2 separate regions of the Homo sapiens genome follow, and region 1 is linked to region 2. The links are contacts of gene promoters, found by promoter capture Hi-C in human tissues and cell types (Jung and others, 2019). All regions are on one chromosome and are shown on one strand. Each heading gives the region's core, a stretch centred on a gene start or on the middle of the fragment in contact. The rest is flanking DNA. Distances are from core to core; before and after follow the strand shown. Region 1 overlaps PTGES3L-AARSD1 (PTGES3L-AARSD1 readthrough). Region 2 holds the start of BECN1 (beclin 1).

Region 1 (5,149 bases), core at 2,504-5,003, 150 kb after region 2:
GGGTTAAGGGCGGTGCAAGATGTGCTTTGTTAAACAGATGCTTGAAGGCAGCATGCTCGTTAAGAGTCATCACCACTCCCTAATCTCAAGTAATCAGGGACACAAACACTGCGGAAGGCCGCAGGGTCCTCTGCCTAGGAAAACCAGAGACCTTTGTTCACTTGTTTATCTGCTGACCTTCCCTCCACTATTGTCCCATGACCCTGCCAAATCCCCCTCTGTGAGAAACACCCAAGAATTATCAATAAAAAAATAAATTAAAAAAAAATAAAAATAAAAATAAAAAAAAATAAAGCAACATAGGAGTCAACCAATAAGACAGACAAGCTGCAGCCAGGCGCAGTGGCTCACACAACCTGTAATCCCAGCACTCTGCGGGGCCAGGGTGGGTGGATCACCTGAGGTCAGGAGTTCGAGACCAGCCTGGCCAACATGGTAAAACCCCATCTCTACTAAAAATACAAAATTAGCTGGGCATGGTGGCACATGCTTCTAGTCCCAGCTACTTGGGAGGCTGAGGCAGGAAAATTGCTTGAACCTGGCAGGTGGAAGCTGCAGTAAGCTGAGATCGCGCCACTGCACCCCAGCCTGGGCAACAAGAGTGGAACTCTGTCTCGAAAAAAAAAAAAAAAAAGACAAGCTGCATTCCATGGAGTCAGAGACAGCCCTTCAAGGTCCATGTTCCAAAGTTTCCACATTTATACAGGGAAGAAGTTATTCACTCCTTCATTCAAAAGATATTTATTGGCCAGGTGCAGTGGCTAACATCTGTAATCCCAGCATTTTGGGAGGCTGAGGCAGGTGGATCACTTGACGTCAGGAGTTTGAGACCAGCCTGGCCAACATGGTGAAACCCCATCTCTACTAAAAATACAGAAATTAGCTGGGAATGCTGGTGGGCACTTGTAATCCCATCTACTCAGGAGACTAACGCAGGAGGATTACTGGAACCCGGAAGGTGGAGGTTGCAGTGAGTCGAGATCACGCCACTGTACTCCAACCTGGGCGATGGAGTGAGACTCTGTCTCAAAAAAAAAAAAAAAAAAATTTATTGAACACATACTATGGACAGACTCTCAGCTTGGCACTGGGTTTATAAAAATGTTCTGGCCGGGCGCAGTGGCTATCACTTATAATCACAGCACTTTGGGAGGCCAAGGCACATCAATTGCTTGAGCCCAGGGGTTCGAGACCAGCCTAGGGCAACATGGCAAAACCCCATCTCTACAAAAAATACAAAAATTAGCCAGGCATGGTGGCACACTTCTGTTGTTCCACCTACTCAAGAGGCTAAGGTGAGAGGATTGCTTGAGCCCAGAAGGGCAACGCTGCTGTGAACCTTGATTATGCCACTGTACTCCAGCCTGAGTAACAGTACGACATCCTGTCTCAAAAAAAAAAAAAAAAAAAAAGGTCAACACACTGTCCCAGCCACTTGGAAGCAAGCTGGGGAGGGAGATATAAATAAAGCACTATAATACAGTGTGAAAAGTGTGGTGGTGGAGTTATATAGGGGACATCATGGGAACCCCAAAAGGAGTCACAAGAACCCAGGTTTCTGGAGTGGCAGGGCTTTGAAGGATGCACAGGGATTGGGTGGGTGAAGGTAGTAATGATGGTAACTTTTCAGGAAGAAGGCATACCTTGAGCAAAGGTACAGAGGTGAGAAACAGCCTGGTTTTTGCAAAACAAACAAAACACAACAGTCTGCTGTGGCTAGAAGATAAAGCTTGGGGCAGAGAGTGTGGGATGTGCTAGTGTGTTATGTAACGGATCTCAACCTAAAGGGCAGGAAATCAAACGCTCAAATACCCAAGAGAGTCAGGGAGGTAATGAAAAGGAGCAAGTGAGGTGAAGTACATGATCCACTGAAAACTTCAACTCTAGGCATCTGGGGATGTGTATCAGTGGGGCTAGATTCTCTCATTTTTCTTTTTCTTTTTTCTTTCTGAGACAGAGTCTCACTCTGTCATCCAGGCTAGAGTGCAGTGGGGTGATCTCGGCTGACTGCAACCTCTGCCTCCCGGGTTCAAGCAATTCTCCTGCCTCAGCCTCCGGAGCAGCTGGGATTACAGGCACGTGCTACCGCGCTCTGCTAACTTTCGTATTTTTAGTAGAGACGGGGTTTCACCACGTCGGCCAGGCTGGTCTCAAATTCCCCACCTTGTGATCTGCCTGCCTCGGCCTTCCAAAGTGCTGGGATTACAGTCACGAGCCACCGAACCTGGCTCCCCGTTTTATTTATTTATTTTTTTTGAAATGGAGTCTCACTCTATTGCACAGGCAGGAGTGCAGTGGTGAGCTCTTGGCTCACTGCAACCTCTGCCTCCCGGGTTCAAGCAATTCTCCCGCCTCAGCCTCCCGAGTAGCTGGCACTACAGGCTCGCACCACCACGCCCAGCTCATTTTTTGTATTTTTAGTAGAGATGGGGTTTTGCCATGTTGGCCAGGCTGGTCTTGAACTCCTGACCTAAATCAATCCATCCACCTCAGCCTCCCAAAGTGCTGGGATTGTGAGCCACCTCTCTCAGCCTCCCATTTTTCAACAGAAGCTTATAGTCTGGATTTTTAGAAGATGCACATTTTTAAATGTCAGCAACTAATAAAAATTTTTTAATGTCAGTAACAAGTCAAAATAATTTCTTTTTTTTTGAGACGTTGTCTCGCTCTGTCGCCCAGGCTGGAATGCAGTGGCACGATCTCAGCTCACTGCAACCTCCACTTCCCAGGTTCAAGCGATTATTCTGCCTCAGCCTCCTGAATAGCTAGGACTACAGACATGCGCCACCACACCCAGCTAATTTTTTGTATTTTTAGTAGAGACGGCGTTTCACTATGTTGTCTGGGCTGGTCTCCAACTCCTGACCTCAAGCAATCTGCCTGCCTCGGCCTCCTACAGTGCTGGGATTACAGGCGTGAGCCACCACACCCGGCCTTAAAATAATTTTTGACACTGTAAAGATTAAAACAAATCTGAGAGCCAGATCCAGCCATCAGGCAGTCAGTTTTCAACCTTTAAGGAGGAGACGACTTTGGAGGGCCTTAAGTGGGGGAGCATCAGGGTCAAATGTGTGTTTTAGACAGACCATGCTGAGGGCAATGCAGAGAATGGATTGAAAATGGAACTGAAAATATGCAACAAACTTCTCACTGTATGCTGGTGAGGCTTGAACTAGGAAGAAATTAAGTAGTGAATTCATTAATATTTAAGAGGTCAGTAGAGCCTGGTTGTAAGCCACTACTAGAAAGAATAAGAGTCATCAGGGCTAGGTGTGGTGGCTCATGCCTGTAATTCCAGCACCCTGGGAGGCTGAGGCAGGCAGATCACCTGAGGTCTGAAGTTCGAGACCAGCCTAGTCAACATGGCAAAACCCCATCTCTACTAAAAATACAAAAAATTACCAGGTGCGGTGGCTTACACCTGTAATCCCAGCACTTTGGGAGGCCGAGGCGAGCAGATCACCTGAGGTCAGGAGTTCAAGAGCAGCCGGGCCAACATGGTGAAACCCTGTCTCTATTAAAAATACAAAAATTAGCTGGGCATGGTGGTGGGCACCTGTAATCCCAGCTACTCAGGAGGCTGAGGAAGGAGAATCACTTGAACCCAGGAGACAGAGGTTGCAGTGAGCTGAGATCACGCCACTGCACTCCAGCCTGGGTGACAGAGTGAGACTCTATCTCAAAAAAAAAAAAATACAAAAATACAAAAATTAGCCGGGCGTGGTGGCACACGCCTGTAATCCCAGCTACTCAGGAGGCTGATGAAGGAGAATCGCTTGAACCCAGGAGGCGGAGGTTGCAGTGAGCCGAGATGGCGCCATTGCACTCCAGCCTGGGCAACAAGAGAGAAACTCTGTCTCAAAAAAAAAAAAAAGAAAAGAAGAAAAAGAAAGAAAGAGAGAGAGGGGGAGGGAGGAAGGGAGGGAGAGAGAGAGAGAGAAAGAAAGAAAAGAAAGAAAGAAAGAAAGAAAAGAAAGAATAAGACTCATCAATTAATTTCTACAGTGGAAACTACTTCTGGGACTGGAATATAGAAAACAAGAATTGGCAGAGGCCGGGTGCAGTGGCTCACAGCTGTAATCCCAGCACTTTAGGAGGCCGATGCAGGTGGATCACCTGTGGTCAGGAGTTTGAGACCAGCCTGGCCAACATGTTGAAACACTGTCTCTACTAAAAATACAAAATTAGCTGGGTGTGGTGGCACATGCCTGTAATCACAGCTACTCGGGAGACTGAGGCAGGAGAATCGCTTGAATCTGGGAGGCGGAGGTGTAGTGAGCTGCGATCATGCCATTGCACTCCAGCCTGGGCAACAAGAGCGAAACTCCGAATCAAAAAAAAAAAAAAAAAAAAAAACAGAAAGAAAAAAGAAAAAGAAATGGCTGGGCACATTGGCTCACGCCTGTAATCCTAGCAGTTTGGGAGGCTGAGGCGGGTAGACCACCTGAGGTCAGGAATTCAAGACCAGCCTGACCAATATGGTGAAACCCCGTCTCTACTAAAAATACAAAAATTAGCCAGGCGTGGGGGCACAAGCCAGTAATCCCAGCTACTCAGGAGGCTGAGGAAGGAGAATCGCTTGAACCCGGGAAGTGGATGTTGCAGTGGGCCAAGATCGCGCCACTGCACTCCAGCCTGTGCTACGGGAGTGAGAATCCATCTCACACAAACACACACACAAAAAGAATCAAAGGTTTTGATTGTGAGTTGCAGTAAAGGGAAAGACCATGTTCATAGCAGTGCCAATATCTGAAGTGGAGTCTTACACATTTCATCACCTACAACGAAAGTAAGTTAACTGGGAGAGATTACCAAGAGAGTAAAAAGAGACTCAGGACAAATAGCTAATGTATGCAGGACTTAAAACCTGCATGACGGGTTGATAGATGCAGCAAACCACCATGGCACACGTATACCTATGTAACAAACCTGCATGTTCTGCACATGTATCCCAGAACTTTAAGTTAAAAAATAAGCCAGGCGCGGTGGCTCACGCCTGTAATCCCAGCACTTTGGGAGGCCGAGGCGGGCAGATCACCTGAAGTCGGGAGTTCGAGACCAGCCTGAGCAACAAGGAGAAACCCCATCTCTACTAAAAATACAAAATTAGCTGGGCGTGGTGGTGCATGCCTGTAATCCCAGCTACCCA
Region 2 (4,979 bases), core at 2,272-4,771:
GCACTTCTATTACCTCTCCTGAGTTAGTCTCTTCCTCCTGGGTCTCTCCTGGTTTCGCCTGGGCTGTGGTAAGTAATGGAGCTAAGGGCAAGGAAAATATTGGGTCAGAAACAGTCTTATTAAAGCAGGAGGGCATCTGAAAGTATGGGAAAAGAATGTGAAATATTCTCATCACCACCCTCACCTCCAATTTTTCTTAAAGTACCATTTACACCAAAAGAATCTGTGGTCTTCCTCACCCCCATTAAATCAGATTAAAGAAATGTTCAATTTTTTAAGGCATAATGGTATCATTATTATTATTATTATTATTACTTTAAGATGGAGTCTTGCTCTGTCGCCAGGCTGGGGTGCAGTGGCACGATCTCGGCTCACTGCAATCTCTGCCTCCCGGGTTCGAGTGATTCCCCTGCTTCAGTCTCCCAAGTAGCTGGGACTACAGGCGTGCACCACCATGCCCAGCTAATTTTTTTGTATTTTAGTAGAGACAGGGTTTCACCATGTTGGCCAGGTCTTGATCTCCTGACCTCGTGATCCACCCGTCTCAGCTACCCAAAGTGCTGGGATTACAGGCTGAGTCACCGCGCCCGGCCGGTATCATTTATCTTTAAGAATCCTTATCTGTCAAAAATACAGAAATATTTACAGTATTTATGTTTGGGATTTGCTTCAAAACAATTCAGAGTGGGAAGGAATGGATGGGGCTGTAGACAAAACTTGATTAAATATGTGTTGATAATTGTTGCAACTAGGTGATGGGTACACAGGAGTTCATGATATACTCTGAAATTTTCCATCACAAAAGCAAACATCCTGTTTCCCCCAGAATAGCAAGGAGGGAACATAAGGAAACTTTCTAGGAAGATGAAACATTGCTAAATTGCAACGATCCAGATTACATCAGTGTATCCATTTGTCAAAAATGTACAGCTAAGATTCATACATTTCAAGTCATGACAATTTACCTTTCTAAAAAGGTGTGAAAAACATAATAATTGAGCAGAGGATGGGAGGTGAATGGAGGTGTAGACAACATAAGAATGTGAGAATATGGCTGATTATTGAAGCTGGATGATGAATACAAGGCAGGCTATGCTATTCTCTTGACTATATATGTCTCAAATTTTCCATAATAAAAAGTCAAAAATTGTTATTAAAAGAGTTTAAGAGGCGCGGTGGCTCACGCCTGTAGTCCCAGCACTTTGGGAGGCTGAGGCGGGCAGATCACAAGGTCAAGAGATCGAGACCATCCTGGCCAACATAGTGAAACCGTCTCTACTAAAAATACAAAAATTAGCTGGGCGTGGCGGTGTGTGCCTGCAGTCCCAGCTACTCAGGAGGCTGACGCAGGACAATCACTTGAACCCGGGAGGCAGAGGTTGCAGTGAGCCGAGATCGCGCCACTGCACTCCAGCCTGGCAACAGAGTGAGACTCCGTCTCAAACAAACAAACAAAAAAAAGAGCTAATTTCCCCTCAAGAAAGAGAAACCAGGTAATAATAGCAGCTAATACTTATTGAATACTATTTGCCCAGCAAATTCCTAAGTGTTTCTGTGGTTTGTCATATTTGAACTTTATAAATTCTTTATGAGGCAGTTTAACGTTTTACAGAAAAAATCAGAAACCAAGGCTTGGAGAAATGAAGTAACTTGCAAAAAGTTGTTCAGCTAGTAAATGACAGCCAGGATTTAAACCCAAGCAGGCTGACTCCAGGCCCATAAGCTTATTTAAGCTGCCTATTCAGTCTTCTCTTTTACTGTCTGACTTAATCTGAATTCTTCTGACTTTGCGGGATTTTGGGGTTTTTTATTTTTTTTAATTATAGAGACAGGGTCTTACTGTGTTGCCCAGGCTGGTCTCAAACTCCTGCTCAAGTGATCCACCTGCCTCAGCCTCCCATAGTGCTGGGATCACAGGTGTGAACCACCACTCCTGGCCTTTTTAATTAATTTATTTTTTGAGACAGGGTCTTGCACTGTTGCCCAAGCTGCAGTGCAGTGGCATGATCATAGCTTCCTGCAGCTTTGACCTCCTGGGCTCAAGTGATCCTCCTGCCTCAGCCTCCACCACCCACCACACCCAGCAATTTTTTTTTTTTTTTAGAGACAAGATCTCTGCTAGGTTGCTCAGGTTGGTCTTGAACTCCTGGGCTCAAGCGATCCTCCCACCTCAGCCTCCCAAAGCACTGAGATTACAGGCGTGAGCCATCACATCCAGCAAATTCTTCAGACTTTAAGACTCTACTCCATTTACCAGCTGTTGGACCTTAGGTAAGTCACTTAACCTCTCTGTGCCTCGGTTCTTCATCTGAAAAATGATGTAATGACGGTATACCCCGTACGGGTTGTTACAGGGACTAAATGAAGTAATACGTGTAATGCACTTGGTATTACTATATAGTAAGTCCTCAAAAAATACCATTTATTATTATATATACATATTCCTTTTCTCTGAAACAGCAGGAGCAGAAAATAAGGATCTTTCTTTTGCTACTGAAAGCTCTCTTTTTTTGAGACGGAGCCTCGCTCTGTTGCCCAGGCTGGAGTGCAGTGGTGCGATCTCAGCTCACTGCAAACTCCACCTCACCGGTTCAAGCGATTCTCCTGCCTCAACCTCCCGAGTAGCTGGGACTACAGGCACGTGCCATCACGCCCGGCTAATTTTTGTATTTTTAGTAGAGAGGGGTTTCGCCATGTTGGCCAGGCTGGTCTCGAACTCCTGACCTCAGGTGATCTGCCCGCCTCGGTCTCCCAAAATGCTGGGATTACAGGCGTGAGCCACCGCGCCCGGTCGGAAAGCTCTCAGAAGTCCACAATGTCAGAATGCTTTATGTTTCCAAGGAGAAAACAGGGAGCCAGATGAAGTGACTTTCCTAGGTTCACACGATGAGTTTGTGGCAGACTACACAGCCACCATAAGAATTATATCACCAAAGCTGCCCACCTTCCACATTCTTGACCACCCTCTTTCCAAGGGTCTCGCTGACCTGTGAGTTCCTGGATGGTGACACGGTCCAGGATCTTGAAACTCGTGTCCAGTTTCAGGGGCTGGCTGCAGCGCTGGCACACGAAGCTCACCTGCATGGTGCTGTTGTTGGACGTCTTAGACCCTTCCATCCCTGAGGCCGTGGAAAAGAGGCAACATTAGGGAGAAGCGACGCCCTTGACCTCCGGCCCGGGGTTACCACATGCCTTGGTGACGATGGTAAAGGGAGGGAAGTCCCAACCTGCGCCGTTCCCTCTAGGAATGGTATGATACGGGGAGGACCTGCTTCCGGGACAGCCTGAGCAAAGGCAGTTTAGAGCCCAGGGTCAGGGAAGGGACTCCAATAAGAGCCGTGAGGGTTCCCAGACTCCCTTCTAAGGTCCCACCTCAGCCCCCGATGCTCTTCACCTCGGGAGCCCGGAGCCCGTCACCCAAGTCCGGTCTACCGCGGAGGCACTGTGGCCTCGGGTCGGCCCCGGAGCGAGGCCTCCAGAACTACCATCGCTCTGTCTTCAGCGACTTCCCGGTAGCCGCCGGAAAACTTCCGCCCGAGACCGGACGTGACGCTACGACGGCAGCAGGAGCTCCTGGTCCACAGGCTCACAGGCCCGGCAGCGGCCCCCAGAGGCCGGGCTGGGAAAAGCAGCGGGCTTCAGCGGATGAACAAGGTTACCACGGGAAGTGTAGGAGCCAAGGCCGCAGAGAATGGGGAGGCTCCGCTATTCTCTAAATTCAGGGGGCGGCGGGCGCGGTGGCTCACGCCTGTAATCTCAGCACTTGGGGAGGCCGAGGAGGGCGGATCACGTGAGGTCAGGAGTTCGAGACCAGCCTGGCCAACACAGTGAAACCCCGTCTCTACTAAAAATACAAAAACTAGCCGGGCGTGGTGGGGCACGCCTATAATCCCAGCTTAATCCCAGCTACTCGGGAGGCTGAGGCAGGAGAATCGCTTGAACCTGGGAGGTGGAGGTTGCAGTGAGCCGAGATCGGGCCACTGCACTCCAGCCTGGGCGACAGGGCAAGGCTCCATCTCAGAACAACAACAGCAACAACAAAAGGCCGGGCATGGTGGCTCACGCTTGTAATTCCAGCACTTTGGGAGGCCGAGGCGGGCGGATCACAAGGTCAGGAGTTCGAGACCAGCCTGGCCAAAATGGTTAAATCCCGTCTCTACTAAAAAATACAATTAGCTGGGCATGGTGGCGTGCGCCTGTAATCCCAGCTACTCAGGAGGCTGGGGTAGGAAAATCGCTTGACCCCCGGAGGCGGAGGTTGCAGTGAGTCGAGATCATGCCACTGCACTCCAGCCTGGGCGACAGAAGGAAACTCCATCTCAAACCCCCCCCCCCCACACACACACACAAAACCAACAAAAAAAGAAAGTGATATTCAAATAAAAGCTTGAAGAAGGTGAGGAAGGAATTCTTACCTGCATCTTAAGGAAGAGCATTCTAGGCCAAGGGAACAGCAAGAGCACAGAGGGTACCTGTTTGGGGATTAGCAGAGGCTGGTGTGGCTAGAAGATGGGCAACGAAAAGAGATACAGAAAATGGGGTGAGGGAGGTAAGAGTGTTGAGCTACCACCTAGGCTCTTATAGGGATTGTAAAGCTCTGGCTTTCACTTTGAATGAGATGAGATGACTGGGTCTTGAGCAGAGGGACTTACTTCATTTTTAAAAACAACTTTATGGGGTATAATTTACATACCATAAGACTCACACTTTTTAAATGTACAGTTCAATAATTTTTAGTAAATTTACACAGTTGCCCAACTATCACCATAATCCAGTTTTAGAACATTTCCCATCTCCCCTTGCAATCCCCCACTGTGGCCTCCCAAAGTGCTGAGATTACAGGTGTGAGCCAATGTGCCTGGCCAAAAGTTTTTCATTTCAATAAAGTCCAATGTTTATGCTTTTGGTGTAAAAGAAACCACTGCTTAACCCAAAATTGTATGTAGTATTGTCTATTTTATTTTTATTTTGAGACAGTG

The links. Contacts are between HindIII fragments. The study calls those that stand out against the background at their distance.
Region 1: a fragment that was not itself captured here is called in contact with the fragment with the promoter of BECN1 in region 2 in 4 of the 25 tissues and cell types used here (aorta, dorsolateral prefrontal cortex, mesenchymal stem cells and 1 more).

What each region holds. Positions count from the first base shown.
Region 1 is chr17:42,973,745-42,978,893 of GRCh38, forward strand. The region is part of intron 4 of PTGES3L-AARSD1 (PTGES3L-AARSD1 readthrough); the gene reads right to left. All of the region lies in intron 4 of PTGES3L (prostaglandin E synthase 3 like), which reads right to left. Among named protein-coding and RNA genes, the nearest start is that of PTGES3L, 3.8 kb to the right of the region's middle. RefSeq lists a silencer at 2,755-2,955. The HindIII fragment of the contact is 3,226 bases long and covers 2,141-5,149 here.
Region 2 is chr17:42,820,761-42,825,739 of GRCh38, forward strand. It overlaps BECN1 (beclin 1), which reads right to left and starts at 3,522. Exons shown (of 12, transcript NM_001313998.2): 1 at 3,395-3,522; 2 at 2,988-3,119; 3 at 14-81. The coding sequence starts at 3,117. MIR6781 (microRNA 6781) reads right to left here and starts at 3,183; the gene lies at 3,120-3,183. RefSeq lists enhancers at 2,749-3,315, 3,316-3,884, 3,751-3,880, 3,885-4,451. The HindIII fragment of the contact is 8,869 bases long and covers 1-4,979 here.